Linked DNA regions of Homo sapiens: regions 1, 2, 4 and 5 are each linked to region 3. The links are contacts of gene promoters, found by promoter capture Hi-C in human tissues and cell types (Jung and others, 2019). All regions are on one chromosome and are shown on one strand. Each heading gives the region's core, a stretch centred on a gene start or on the middle of the fragment in contact. The rest is flanking DNA. Distances are from core to core; before and after follow the strand shown. Region 1 overlaps ADAM2 (ADAM metallopeptidase domain 2). Region 2 has its middle 74 kb from the start of TCIM. Region 3 holds the start of SFRP1 (secreted frizzled related protein 1). Region 4 overlaps LINC02866 (long intergenic non-protein coding RNA 2866). Region 5 has its middle 57 kb from the start of TCIM.

Region 1 (2,700 bases), core at 125-2,624, 1.6 Mb after region 3:
TTCTTTCAGTATTGGACATTTTAGGTTAAATGTTTTGATAAAGTCATTATTCTCTAAATCTTTCAACTGTGAAATTACTATTTTCCTTTTGGGTTTAATATGTAATTTTGGAGGAGTTATATTGAGACCCTGGGCATATTCTGTTTCTCCTCAAACTTTAACTAACTAGTTTTAAAATCCATTAGTGATTTTCTAACTGTATTATTGACTTTGCCTTTATTATCTAGAAATGTACTGTAGGAAGAAGTAGTCACTTCTATATTTTTATTTACTTATCTATATATATATCAGTTTAGACACAATAATTGTTATTTTATTTAATAGGATAAAATACATTACTATCATTATTTTGATACTTTCTCAAATTCTCTTAATTTTGACTATTGGGAATCCCTTTGAGCTGGTTAATGTGTCCTTTTCAAAAGTCTGTAGGACTTTTTAATAACTTCCAAATTTTTCTAGCACAAGAAAAGATGTTGTAGGTTGCATTGAGCTTCTTCTACTTCTGCTCTGGATTCAGCTATTCATCCAAGGAGCCTTGGTTCCTTTTCTTAGAAGATGGTATTTGAAAATAAATACCTAAGCACCAGCTGTGTGCATGTCTACTATTTCTTTTTTTTTTAAATTTTTTTTATTTTTACTGACTTTTTATTTTTTAATGTTTTTATTTGGAAACAATTTCAGACATATAAAAGTTAGAATAATAGTGCAAATAATTCCTGTATACCCTTCAAATTTTCCAAATTTTAGCATTTTAACACATTTGGCTTATCATTTTCTATCTCTTTGTCTCTGTCTCTGTCTCTCTCTTTCATTACATATAATATACACACAAATATACAAATACACACATTATAAACACATACAGTTTTGTAACTATATGTATATATTGCTTTATAATTGCTTTTCTGAAATATTTGAGAGTAAATTTCAGATATGGTGGCCCTTTATTTCTTTTTTTTTCTTCTCATTACCTCTCAAGCCTGTCAGTCAATGGAGCTAGAACATGCATTTCATATATGCACATACATGTATCACATATTCATTCATGTAAATCTCTGAATTTAAGACATGAACTTAGTGATAATTCTAATTCCAATTAAGTGCCATAAAGTACATTTTAGTATACAAGTTGCTTCCTCATATACTCAAGTTCCAAATGCACAGAAATTTGCTTTATAATTGCTAAAGCATATACTTACTGAAAGAAAATTCTAGCTATTATGACTATATTTTCCTTTTCATCATTGATCCTTTTTATATAAGCTGCATTAAAGGGCTTCTCTGCTGAATGAAATGTCTGTGTAGTATTGGTGTTGGTATCTAGTAATTTATTTGCCCTCTATGTTATATTTTACTTTTTCTATGTGTGTTTAGCATATTTCTTAACTTTGTATCATATAATATGACTAATACATAACGGAAATTGCATTCACTTTTGCTTTTCTGAAGGCTAGAATTTTGTAATGGAAAGGATTTAACATAGCTGGACTCAAACTATAAAGCAAACCTGTCTCTGAGCAGGAGCTGAAAACATTGTTCATTTCGTTATGCCTCTGGGAGATGCTTTTTATGTGCTCCCTGGATTCTTCACCACACAAGCTTAATTAGTTCAGTAGTCATCCAGGTTTCAGGCTGAATATAAACCTGAAATTTATATTCAGATTTCAGTTCTCAGTCTAAGTTTCCAGTCAACTAACTGACATTAGACCCGTATTTTAATAATGTCCTGGGATTATTCAAGCTAAGAATCTTCAACCTTGGATGTGCTTTCATAAATTATTAAACAAAGCCACATCTACAGAATATCTGGTGCTGCAGTTCCCATTCTTAAAGCTCAGTTATATAGTCCTTTCCTTTCTGGTTACATTCCGGTGTCTTCAAAGTGTGAGCATGTGTGTTTCAGATTACAGTTCTACCTTACTACAATGCCTTCCAGCCAAAGACCACCAAGAAGGCAGCCGTAGTTGAGCAAGTTGGGTTTTTTTACATGTTGAGTGGTGAGAAATCGCATCATGAGAAATTGTGGAGTATGCCAGTTCTAGAGATTTGGACTTGGGTTAGGTGATTTTAGGAAGGTTTCAGGAAATAGACCTTTGCTGTAAATTAGATGTTTTAAAGTAGAGATATTAATAATTGTATGATTGTATATCTTAATCTTATATATGAAGAGGGAAGACTAAAGTGAAGCTAAAGTTGTAATTGCTAAAGAAGCAATAGTCACACATATTAGTTGAATCCTGGGAATGTCCAGTAACTGTGGCTTGGACAATGTTTGTTTCTCCTCTGTGTTCATACATGATCTATGAAGTGAGCTTGCTTATTTTCTTAATCTTTCATGATCACAGAATGGCTTTGCCTAAGGTTGATGTTCTATGAAATTACTTAATGTTTAACTGGTGTGTGCACTATGAGTGCAGAACAGCTTTTATCAACTCCAAGTCCTTCCTCGATGACTCCTGGCCACTTCAGGGGCTGGGTTGCCCATTTTCGTTGTCTTCTTTTGGCCAAAGGGAGAAAAGTTCAGGCCATAGAAAATTGCTTGAAGACATTTAGATTTTCATCACTGCTGAGATTTTGCTGATTAGGAGGCTATTTAGATAACATATGTTGTCTATCTCAACATATGCAGTTGATCTAGGGTTAGTCTCTCTGCCTCCATGGTTTCCTGAATCTTCTGATGTAGCAATGGTCATGTGG
Region 2 (2,700 bases), core at 74-2,573, 1.1 Mb after region 3:
GCTTTGTTATCCTAGAAGCTGAGCAAGGGAGAGTTTGCTGCTAGGTGGTCCAGCAGGAAAGGAGAACTAGCATTCACGAGAACACTATGTGTCAGCAATGACTGTACCTGATTCTCAAAAGGGAGTTTGAAAAACATCATATTCGGAAATGTCTTCCAATGCTAGGTGGCTACTTCTCTTTATACCTTTGAAAAGTGCAGGTCTTGTCTCACTGTTACTGAGGCTTTAGTAATTCTCAGAAGGTTGGTGCCATTGTCACGCCCAATGCATCAGAAAAATATTTGACTGGAGAAACCAAATTCTCAGGCTTATTAAGGATGCCACAAAGTCCCTTAATGATTCACAGGGACGTTCTCAGTCCCAAGCCCAGAGAATTGCTAAGTTCTTTACATCTCATTTTTCAAACCAAAGATAGGCTGTGTGGCAGATCAAAGATGTCACCACATTCTTCGACATTCTTCCTTTCTAGAAGTAGTGTCTATTTCATCTTCCCTTTACCCTGGGCTTTCCTGTGACTGCTTTAACCAATAGAGTCAATGGAAATTATGCTATTCCAATTCTGAGGCTGATTTAAATTGATGATCACTTTCTGCCTTGCCCTCTAGGGAAGCCCTGAGCCATGAAATAAGAGGTCTGACTATGCTGCAGAAGAGATCATAAGGAGAGATCCTGAGACTTCAGGGAGAGGAAGACAGAGTGATCCAGGGCAGCCTATCATTCCACTCACCTGACACAGGCAGCAAGCATGTGAATAATGCCACTGTGGCCCGGATCAGATGGGTAGCAGACTGGCCACCAGCAAAACAGCACTGAGTTAGTTATCCCATGTGGTGCAGAAGTATAGCTCATTTGAGCCCTGGCTGAATTTCTGACCCACAAAATTGTGACATTAATAAAATGGTTGTTATTTTATGTCACTATCTTTGGGGATAGTTTGTTACACACCACTAGTTAAATGGAACCATCTGGGTGGAAGTTGAAGACTGGTGATCCAATCAATCACCAAAGTGTTCATGAAACTCATCTTTTACTATCCCTCTGCCTATATTTTTATCACTGAGAGATTCTTCATAAGGGTGAATATATCAGATCTAGAGGTTATAGGTTTTAGACTCTTATCCCTGGAGAAGGCATAGACTTGTAGCCTTGTATGCAGTTTTATGCCCTGAGATTCTAGTTCAGCAACAAGTTATAAATGTGCTATACCTTGTATATCTGCTGAAAATTTAAAACATAGCAATGATTAATTAAATGAAATGCCAAAGCAAATTGTATGAGAAAGGATCAATTTCTGTAATGGCAGTAAGAACCATGGCAAACTTGCTCTCCCTCTAAAACAACAAAAATACAGTCATTTTTTGGTCAACAACAAACTGCACATAGGAGAGTGGTCTTATAAGATTCTAATACCATGATTTTATTGTTTCTTTTTACATTTAGATGTGTTTAGATACACAAACGCTTACCATTGTGTTACAATTGCCTACAGTATTCAGTACAGTAACATGCTGTACAGCATTGCAGCTTAGGAGCAATAGACTATACCATATAGCCTAGGTGTGTAGTAGGCTATACCATCTAGGTTAGTATAAGTGCACTCTATATTCTCACAATGACAAAATTGCCTAACTACATATTTATCAGAATATATTCCTGTCATTCAGCAATGCATAACTGTACAGGCAAAAATATTGAAGTCAATCAACTCAAAACTCGACAGTTGACCAAAGCATATAGCAACCTGAAAACTATGTATCCAAGCAAAAGTATTAAATTTGGGTTACATGGAAGGAATTCTGTGAAGTTTTAACTTGGAGATATTCACATGTTCTTCCTGTTCCAGCTCAGTGGCATGGTAGACAAAAGCCAGCAATGATGAAGGCAAGAGAGAGCTGACCACTTTTAGATCTTTTGTAAAGGTACCACTTCCAGAACACAGTCAATATTTTGTCCATGTTTGCAGCTTCCTGGGAAATCTTTATTCTCTGAGCATAATGGTGATGTGATTTGACTCAGCTCAGCTCCTTCCCAGCAGCATCTCAGCTGCTTAGATGAAAGGCTGTGATTTCAGTTGAGGCAAACAACAAGCTGGCTGGGAATTTAAAAGAAAATCCAGGAAAACTAGACAACCATGGGAAACTCTGAAAAGCTTCCACATATTTCTGGGTGTTTAAAAAGTAGTGGGAAAATCCAGAAAAAAAAAAACTGGGAAAGGAGAAGGCACCAGTCATTCACCTCTGGCTGACTTTGAGGCCATGTACAAGCAGGAAGTGAGAGCGAAGGCTGTTTCATAAATTGCCTGTAGTGTGATGGCTTGCCTTCTCATACAGATTCCTCTTGCAAAGGGTAGAGATAAAAAGGCAGGGCATTTTTTTAAAAAATCTGATCTATTATTGGCTGACCACATATTGATTTCAGTGTGACCCCTAGGAAGCCAAACTTAAAAATAAAAACAAGAACTTAAGAAAAAAAAAATGACTAGAGAACTCAACTCAAAAGCCATACACTGCTGAGAATACAAAATCTACAGAATTAGTCCAGGGAAGTCACTAAATGAATAAACAGAAACAAGAAAAACAATAGCAAAAACAACAAATCAGCTACAACAAACCTATGGGAACAGGAGAATCTGATACCAGCATTGCAACAATACATCTAAAATGTCCAGTTTTCAACAAAAAAAGACATGAGAAAGAGAAA
Region 3 (2,700 bases), core at 159-2,658:
TAGGGACAGAAGATATGGAGACTCCAGGAACTTCATGAACTATTTGCTGTGGTCTTCTGTCCCGGGATAGTCCGGGTCTCACTCCCAGCTCTCCAGAGCTTAACCCTCCCTCTCAGGGGAATGTTTGAAACCTACGAAGAATTCTCAGGAATTCGAGGTAGAAGGTGGCAGAGAGACTTCTGTTCCTGGGGGCCGAGCTGTTGTGCTGATACCGTCCTCTTGGCGTCTGCCCTAGTGGGGACCCTTGATTTTAACTTGAAGTTCCTGGACTGGGTCTAACCTTAGCATGTGTGCCTGAGTGATGGACTTGGTATTTACACCAGCCACGCTGATAAGTGCACATGTGTTTTTAATGTTTTGGCTTTCCACACCACAAACACACAGATGTGCTGTCGCCCGGGCTAGGACTTGAGTAGGGTTTTTCTATTTAAATATATATTATATATTTAAAAAAGTGTCCTCCCAGAGCTAATACCGTTGCTAGCAGCTCTTCCTGCCGCCACACCGGGCAAAGTCCACCCACTGCCCCAGTGTTGAGGGCCACCATGGGCGGCCCCACCTGGAGAGGTGCTGCTCACAGCAAACAGCTCCAACTGCGCCTTCGCCTCGCCTTCCAGGGAGCCCAGCCAGGCCCACTGGGTATTTACAAGCAGACCTCCCTCGCTTCAGCCTTCCTGAACCCCTGTTAGTTGGGAAACCACCTGTCTGCACCGCAGCTAGAGAACCGAGGAGAGGAGCCGCTAGTCTAAAGGGCTGTTGGTTGAAATTAGGAAGCAGTGTAAAGAAAAAGAAAAAAAAAGTTTGGGAGGCCAAGGCAGGAGCATCACCTGAGGTCAGGAGTTCGAGACCAGCCTGGCTAACATGGTGAAACCCCGTCTCTACTAAAAATACAAAAAATTAGCGGGGGCATGGTGGCACGCGGCTGTAATCCCAGCTACTCGGGAGGCTGAGGCAGGAGAATCGCTTGAACCCGGGAGGCGGAGGTTGCAGTCAGCGGAGATAGCGCCATTGCACTCCAGCTTAGGCAACAAGAGCGAAACTGTCTCAAAAAAAAAAAGTCTTCATAATTTCATGGGTTTGCAAGTATGATCCAGGCTCCCCGCTTCTCTGCAAGCCAATGCGAGTTAATTACAGCGTCCGCCCTGGTCTCTCTCCACCCCACGCCGTGATCCATTCCCCTTCTTTTTCTCCCCTTGTCTCTTTCCTCCTCCCCCTTTTATTTATGTATTTTTGGTTTTGTTTTTTAAGGGGTGTTGAGCCGCGTCTGGTTCTAGTAAACCGAACCCGCTCGCGAGGGAGGCGATTGGCTCCCGCGCCGGTGACGGACGTGGTAACGAGTGCGGCTCGCCCCGCCGGGAGCTGATTGGCTGCGCGGGGCGGCTCCGAGGGCTCGGCCGTAGGAGCCCCGCGCACTCCAGCCCTGCAGCCTCCGGAGTCAGTGCCGCGCGCCCGCCGCCCCGCGCCTTCCTGCTCGCCGCACCTCCGGGAGCCGGGGCGCACCCAGCCCGCAGCGCCGCCTCCCCGCCCGCGCCGCCTCCGACCGCAGGCCGAGGGCCGCCACTGGCCGGGGGGACCGGGCAGCAGCTTGCGGCCGCGGAGCCGGGCAACGCTGGGGACTGCGCCTTTTGTCCCCGGAGGTCCCTGGAAGTTTGCGGCAGGACGCGCGCGGGGAGGCGGCGGAGGCAGCCCCGACGTCGCGGAGAACAGGGCGCAGAGCCGGCATGGGCATCGGGCGCAGCGAGGGGGGCCGCCGCGGGGCAGCCCTGGGCGTGCTGCTGGCGCTGGGCGCGGCGCTTCTGGCCGTGGGCTCGGCCAGCGAGTACGACTACGTGAGCTTCCAGTCGGACATCGGCCCGTACCAGAGCGGGCGCTTCTACACCAAGCCACCTCAGTGCGTGGACATCCCCGCGGACCTGCGGCTGTGCCACAACGTGGGCTACAAGAAGATGGTGCTGCCCAACCTGCTGGAGCACGAGACCATGGCGGAGGTGAAGCAGCAGGCCAGCAGCTGGGTGCCCCTGCTCAACAAGAACTGCCACGCCGGCACCCAGGTCTTCCTCTGCTCGCTCTTCGCGCCCGTCTGCCTGGACCGGCCCATCTACCCGTGTCGCTGGCTCTGCGAGGCCGTGCGCGACTCGTGCGAGCCGGTCATGCAGTTCTTCGGCTTCTACTGGCCCGAGATGCTTAAGTGTGACAAGTTCCCCGAGGGGGACGTCTGCATCGCCATGACGCCGCCCAATGCCACCGAAGCCTCCAAGCCCCAAGGTAAGGCTGCCTCCTCCCACGTGCGCGAGCCGCCCCCTCCATCCCCCGGCCGGAGCTGCAGGAGAACCCGCGCCACCCTACGCCCGCCCGCCGCTGGGTCCCGGTGCTGGGGACTGAGGGCCCGAGGTTGCTCGCATGCTGTGCACGTGATTCCTAAGCGCGTCTGGTCTGTCCCAGGTATCGCTCAGCGCCCCTCGCGACCCAGGTGCACGGCGGGGCTGGCCCGGGAGCGGCAGCTCTGCGCCTTGGCCTCGCAGGGACTCGCTGTGGTCCCCGGAGCCGCTCTTCCTGGGATCCAACTTCGCCTTTCCCATACCTGAAACAAAGCCTTGCGCTTTAAATAACAGGGGAGCTTCCCTCTCCTCTAGGAGGACTCCGAGTCCCTATCGAAGTTTTTAACCTCTGAGACGGGAGGAAAAAACAAAAACCCAAAGC
Region 4 (2,700 bases), core at 17-2,516, 1.2 Mb after region 3:
TGTTCAATAATCCAAGAAAGAGAGGATGAAGGCTTCCACTAGGGAGAATGTGGAGGTAGTGAGAACTGATCCAATTCTGGCATATTGTGAAGGTAAAGCTAAGACGATTGCTGAAAAATTAGATGCGAGGAATGAATAACAAACAGGAGCCCAGGCTGATCTCTTCTGAAGGATGCCTCCTTGAAAGACATTTCCAGGTGTGCCAGTGGTCAACTCTCCAACCATGCAGCTCATGTGTGTTCCAGTTTTTCCAAGGGTTCCAGAAGAGCCCTTTGTTCTGCTGTCTATGTCTATGGATTTACAGGCCTATATAGCACACCTTTGTGGCAGCATCGTTTCCCTTGCTAAATTTAAAAAAAAATTATTATTATGGCAACAAGGATTTACTGAGCTTTTATTATGTGCCAAGCAGAGGACAAGAGATTCACAAAACCTCTCTTAATTATTGTCATAACTCAAGGATTTATCAAAGTTCTTTTTTTTTTTTTTTTTTTTTTTTTTTTTGAGACGGAGTTTTGCTCTTGTTGCCCAGGCTGGAGTGCAATGGCGTGATCTCTGCTCACCACAACCTCCGCCTCCTGGTTCAAGTGACTCTCCTGCCTCAACCTCCCGTGTAGCTGGGATTACAGGCATGAACCACCATGCCAAGCTAATTTTGTATTTTTTTTTTAGTAGAGATGGGGTTTCTCCATGTTGGGCAGGCTGGTCTCGAACTCCTGACCTCAGGTGATCCACTCGCCTCGGCCTCCCAAAGTGCTGGGATTACAGGCGTGAGCCACTGTGCCTGGCCTCAACCTTCTTATACTATGTTCTTTCTTGAAGTGATTCTTATGTGGGCTCATGCTTTTTCTGATACCCTACTTATTGATTACTCCTAAATTTTGATCCCTACCTAGCCCTGGCCTCTGAAGTGTTAAACTCATTTATTCATCTAACTAATCAATACAAATATATAAAAATATGTTATACATATTCATTCTGTTATAAAATAAACCTGGCTATGATCCTTAATAACTCCTTTTCTTTCTCTCCCTACACATAATCTATGGCCAAGTTCTGTCAGTTCTATCTAGAAAATGTTCCCAAAGCCATCTACTTTCTCTCTATTTTCATTGCCATTTATGCCAGCCCTTCATATGGTGGATGCTGTGATGCATGATCCAGAATTCCCTTTAAGATTTTCCCAGGTGCTTAGCTATCAGCCCGCTTCAGGGACTGATACTACTGAAGAAGTTTATGTCACCTAAGGGTACCCTTTTTCCCTTCCAGGTGCAGCTATATCCAGTGACTGATCCACATGGTGGTGTAAAATCCTGCTCTCCTTGTCCGTATCAACTCTAAGGGGTCATCTAAACTTCAGAGCACCTTTCAGGGTAGGCTGAGATCTCCCTCTGTCCAATCCTGCATCTTTCCCATCTGCAGGCATTGATCCCAACAGCACTCTACAACCAGTCACCTGACTGCTGATCTGCATCTCAGAGTTTGCTTCCTAGGGACCCCAGCCTAAAATACTGTATCATCTCTTGCTAGACTAAGATCAAGTAACTCACTTTCCTGGCTCTCCTGATTTGCCTCTTGCCCCAAATTCCCTACACAACACCCAGAGCCATATTTCCTAGTAAGCACTCTGATTGAACCACTCTTGAAGTAAACTTTGCATGACCTCTTTGAACATGACCTGCTATGTCTTTATGCCTTCAGATTCCTTGGATACACCACATTCATTCCTGTAGTGAGGATTTGCACATCTTTTTCCTTTTTCTGGAATGTTCTTTTATACTTTTTGTCTCGGGTAGGTAATTCCTGGTTATTCATACAATCTCAACTAAAAGCTACTTTCTCAGAGAGGCTTTCCTAATTCTTGCCAACATACCCATTACTCTTCCTTAGCACTTTGTATTAGAGTTTGCAAACATATCTTTATTTGGGGGATTCTCATTTAAAGGCCCTATCAAGAGCAGGGATTGGATCTACCTTTCTCACTATGTTCAAAGTTCCAAGGTCACTTAATAAAAGGATTGTTTTTATAGTAATGTTAAATGACAGCATATGCAATTATATTTAATTCTCATAACGACCCTTTGCAATAGGAACTATTGCAGATCTTAAATCAAAGATAAGAGAACTGAGGCAATAAATGGAATGATGTAATAAATGGAATGATGGCTCCATAAGAGGTCCATGTTTTAATCCCTGAAATTTATGAATATAAGCAAAAGGGAACTTTAAATAGCAAAAGAGCTTTTGCAGGTATGAACAAGTTAAACATCTTCAGATGTGGAGATTTAGCTTGGATTATCCGGGGCAGCCCATGTAATCATGAGTTCTTATAAGAAGGAGTCAGAAGGTCAGAAAGGAGAGAAGATGCTGGGTTATTGTCTTTGAAGATGGAGGAAGGAGCCGTGCTCCAAGGAATGTGGACAACAGTTAGAAACTGGAACAGGCAAGGAAACAGATTCTTGCCTAGATCCTCCAGAAAGAACAGATTCCTGCAGACCCATTTTAGACATCTGGCATTCTAAACTATGAGATAATAAATTTGTGTTTATTATAACTCACTAAATTCATGTCAGTTTTTTACAGCAGTAATGGGAAAATAATATACTCCCCTCACCCTTCAGCTGTAAGACAACCTGAAGCCAGGGCTACTTGACTGCAAAGTCCATAATCTTAAACTCTATCCTGCATTGCTTTCAAATT
Region 5 (2,700 bases), core at 96-2,595, 1.1 Mb after region 3:
TATGAACACTTTGTCACTTGTATTAATTGTGTTTCATTGCGTTAATTCTGGCTCCATGGGTCTCTGCCAGTTCCGTTGCAAATAAAATGAACAAAGGAAATCTGGGATACAAAAAGTTTTCTAAGATATGTGTTAATGATAGTATCTAGAAGAAATAAGACCAGATCTAAAATCTGCACTCTAAAGGCTCTGGAGAAATAGCAGTGATTAAACATCCATTAATGAGGGCTGTTACTACCTGGTGCTCATGACCCTTGGTCCGCTGATAATTCGCCATAAAGAGATTAAAATGTAATAGTGCTTTTCTGAGGAGGCTGCAGTAACCATCTTTAACAGCACCCGTGGCAGTGTTATTGTGATTTGCAGTTTCCCTGGTGACCGCCCTTCCGGATGTCCTTCCGAAGAACAGTCAACTTCTGCCCTTCCTCCAAACCAAACTGACTCAGACGATCTGTCCTCATTGAATTAAGTGGCATCCAGGCTTTAGGCATCCTGTTCTTATCTCATTTGTGTCCTCTAAACCAGCCTATGTGCAACCCCCACTGATACTTAGAGAATGATCACAGCACACATAGCCTTGGTTGCAGGCAGGTCCTGGCTTACTTGATCAATGTCTCCAGAAATTGTATACACACTACAGTCTGGTGAGTTAAATCACATCTTAAATAAGCTAGAAGAACTCATTTTTTAAAAAACGTCCACAGAAAATCTTCCCCCACCAAGTCCTTAATTTACCTGAATTATAGCTCTGAGTTGTTACAAACAATATCAAATCTATTTAAAAATCAGCTTAACTGCAAATATCCAATACAATTAATAGTTTAGGGGAAACAGAAAGGTATGGCACGTTGAAGAAATTGACAGTTTTGAGTTTTGAATCCAGCTTTTGGTTTTGCCCTTATTAAGGTTTATAGCCCAGTGCCTGACACTGGTTCTTGATTATATAGTTTATTGCACAACTGGTAATGGATAAATAAAATAAATTCAAAAAGAAATAAATGAAATTGATCATGTGGAGATAGATTCCTAAACAGCTTTCAAAACCGAAATGCCATCTTTATGTAATTTTATTCAAAGTAATAATAACTGTGTTATTTATTACTAAAGAATTTAATTTGCTTTTGAAAATATTTTATTTCACTTAACTGTGATGGTTGTAAAAAGTTGCAGAATTTGCAGAAATATTTCATTATATTTGGCATTTATCATTTGTTTATCACTTTTGCCAACAACGTAAGGAGGTGATGAATTCAAATTTGAAAATAAACATTGAATGTGTTCAGTCTGAATTGTTTGCTTAGCATGAATTACACTTAAAGGACTATTCAGTTTTATGTGAGGTAATGGAAATACCATTCTGTGTCAATGGAAATATTAAGAAGAGGTTGGTTAGAGAAATTTCTGCATTTTGAAGAGATGGTTCCAGACCAATGGCTTGAATCCTTTGTTAGACTTTGGAATGACAAATGAAGTTGAGTAAATAACAAAAACAGAAAAAGAAAACAAAATAAAAACAAAAAAACTGGTGTCTAACCTCCACACCTGATTCTCTTGTTTGTATTTGGGTCTGGGTATAAATATTATTTGAAAGCTCCCTAATACGCAACCACAGTTGAAAACCGTTCCTCTGGAAGATTTCATTATTTCCTTCCAGCACTAAGATTTTGCCCTTCCTAGAAAGTGTTGTACTTTATTGTAGCTTAAGGAACAGGAAAAAAAGAGTGTATATTTTAATTTTGCAAGTAAAAATATTAATTGGGATTGAATGAATCTTCTGATGCAGATAACGTAAAATCACTTTTAATGAAAAAAATTAAATATTTATACAAATATCTGCTATGTTCCATGGGTGGTATACGTAGTTTACATATATGAACTAATTGAACTCTTGGAGTATAGCCTATTAACTAATATTAGAATAATTATATGAAGATGGTAGCACCAGCATCATCATCATTATCCCTATTACAGGTAAACTGATAGGGTTGTTAAGGAGTATGTTTATCTATCAATAAGTGGAAAAACTGAAACCAGGCAGTTGGCTTTAGGGGATACATAGTTACCCCAAACACTCTACTGCCTGTCACAGTTCTACAAACAGGACCCGCCACAATGTGTACACCCAAATCCTTCATCCAGCCTAGTGCCCTTTTTTAGGACATTATAGGACACTTGGGAAAAACTTGATTTATTTTCAATGAATAAGTGCAGAATTCAGCCCTGTCTAAAAGAATGAGCTATAGTCTCCAGTATCATCTTGACATTCCATTAGAAACACCTTGAAGACAGATGGAAATTCATCCCTGTTGTGAAACCCTCCAGAAAATGATATGACACAATATCCCTGAGGTCATACATTTTAATACCTAACCTCTTCTTCCCCCAAGTTTCTTCTTATATCCAATCCAAATGTCTCATATTCTAGTTTTAACTCTTTTATTTTATTATCTTCTCCTTTGTCTAGAGAGGAGCTTGAAAAAAAAAAATCTGACTTGGAACAGTTTCATTTTCCTTAGCCAGCAGCTGGGATATAGGTGGAGCTTTGTGCTCTGTTCCTACCAGATGGCCGAAACTGCTGCCCCAGTGGCGGACAACCATGAATGGGTGCCAGCATTGCTCAGGAGCTTTGAAAAGTGACCCATGGCCAAGCCCCACCCTAGGCCAATTCCATGCTGTGGTCATCTGTCCATGTCAAAAATC

The links. The method cuts DNA at HindIII sites, captures the fragments that hold promoters and counts their contacts. A contact is called where the count stands out against the background at its distance.
Region 1: a fragment that was not itself captured here is called in contact with the fragment with the promoter of SFRP1 in region 3 in 1 of the 25 tissues and cell types used here (liver).
Region 2: a fragment that was not itself captured here is called in contact with the fragment with the promoter of SFRP1 in region 3 in 1 of the 25 tissues and cell types used here (pancreas).
Region 4: a contact is called between a fragment that was not itself captured here and the fragment with the promoter of SFRP1 in region 3, in 1 of the 25 tissues and cell types used here (dorsolateral prefrontal cortex).
Region 5: a fragment that was not itself captured here is called in contact with the fragment with the promoter of SFRP1 in region 3 in 1 of the 25 tissues and cell types used here (pancreas).

Annotation. Positions count from the first base shown.
Region 1 is chr8:39,756,498-39,759,197 of GRCh38, reverse strand. The region is part of intron 15 of ADAM2 (ADAM metallopeptidase domain 2); the gene reads left to right. Among named protein-coding and RNA genes, the nearest start is that of ADAM2, 80 kb to the left of the region's middle. The HindIII fragment of the contact is 4,052 bases long and covers 1-2,700 here.
Region 2 is chr8:40,225,771-40,228,470 of GRCh38, reverse strand. No RefSeq gene overlaps it. Among named protein-coding and RNA genes, the nearest start is that of TCIM, 74 kb to the right of the region's middle. The HindIII fragment of the contact is 3,048 bases long and covers 1-2,700 here.
Region 3 is chr8:41,308,181-41,310,880 of GRCh38, reverse strand. It overlaps SFRP1 (secreted frizzled related protein 1), which reads left to right and starts at 1,408. Exons shown (of 3, transcript NM_003012.5): 1 at 1,408-2,265. The coding sequence starts at 1,722. RefSeq lists enhancers at 1,688-2,458, 2,459-2,700. The HindIII fragment of the contact is 13,871 bases long and covers 1-2,700 here.
Region 4 is chr8:40,148,939-40,151,638 of GRCh38, reverse strand. The region is part of intron 3 of LINC02866 (long intergenic non-protein coding RNA 2866); the gene reads right to left. Among named protein-coding and RNA genes, the nearest start is that of TCIM, 3.2 kb to the left of the region's middle. The HindIII fragment of the contact is 4,092 bases long and covers 1-2,700 here.
Region 5 is chr8:40,208,633-40,211,332 of GRCh38, reverse strand. No RefSeq gene overlaps it. Among named protein-coding and RNA genes, the nearest start is that of TCIM, 57 kb to the right of the region's middle. The HindIII fragment of the contact is 4,749 bases long and covers 1-2,700 here.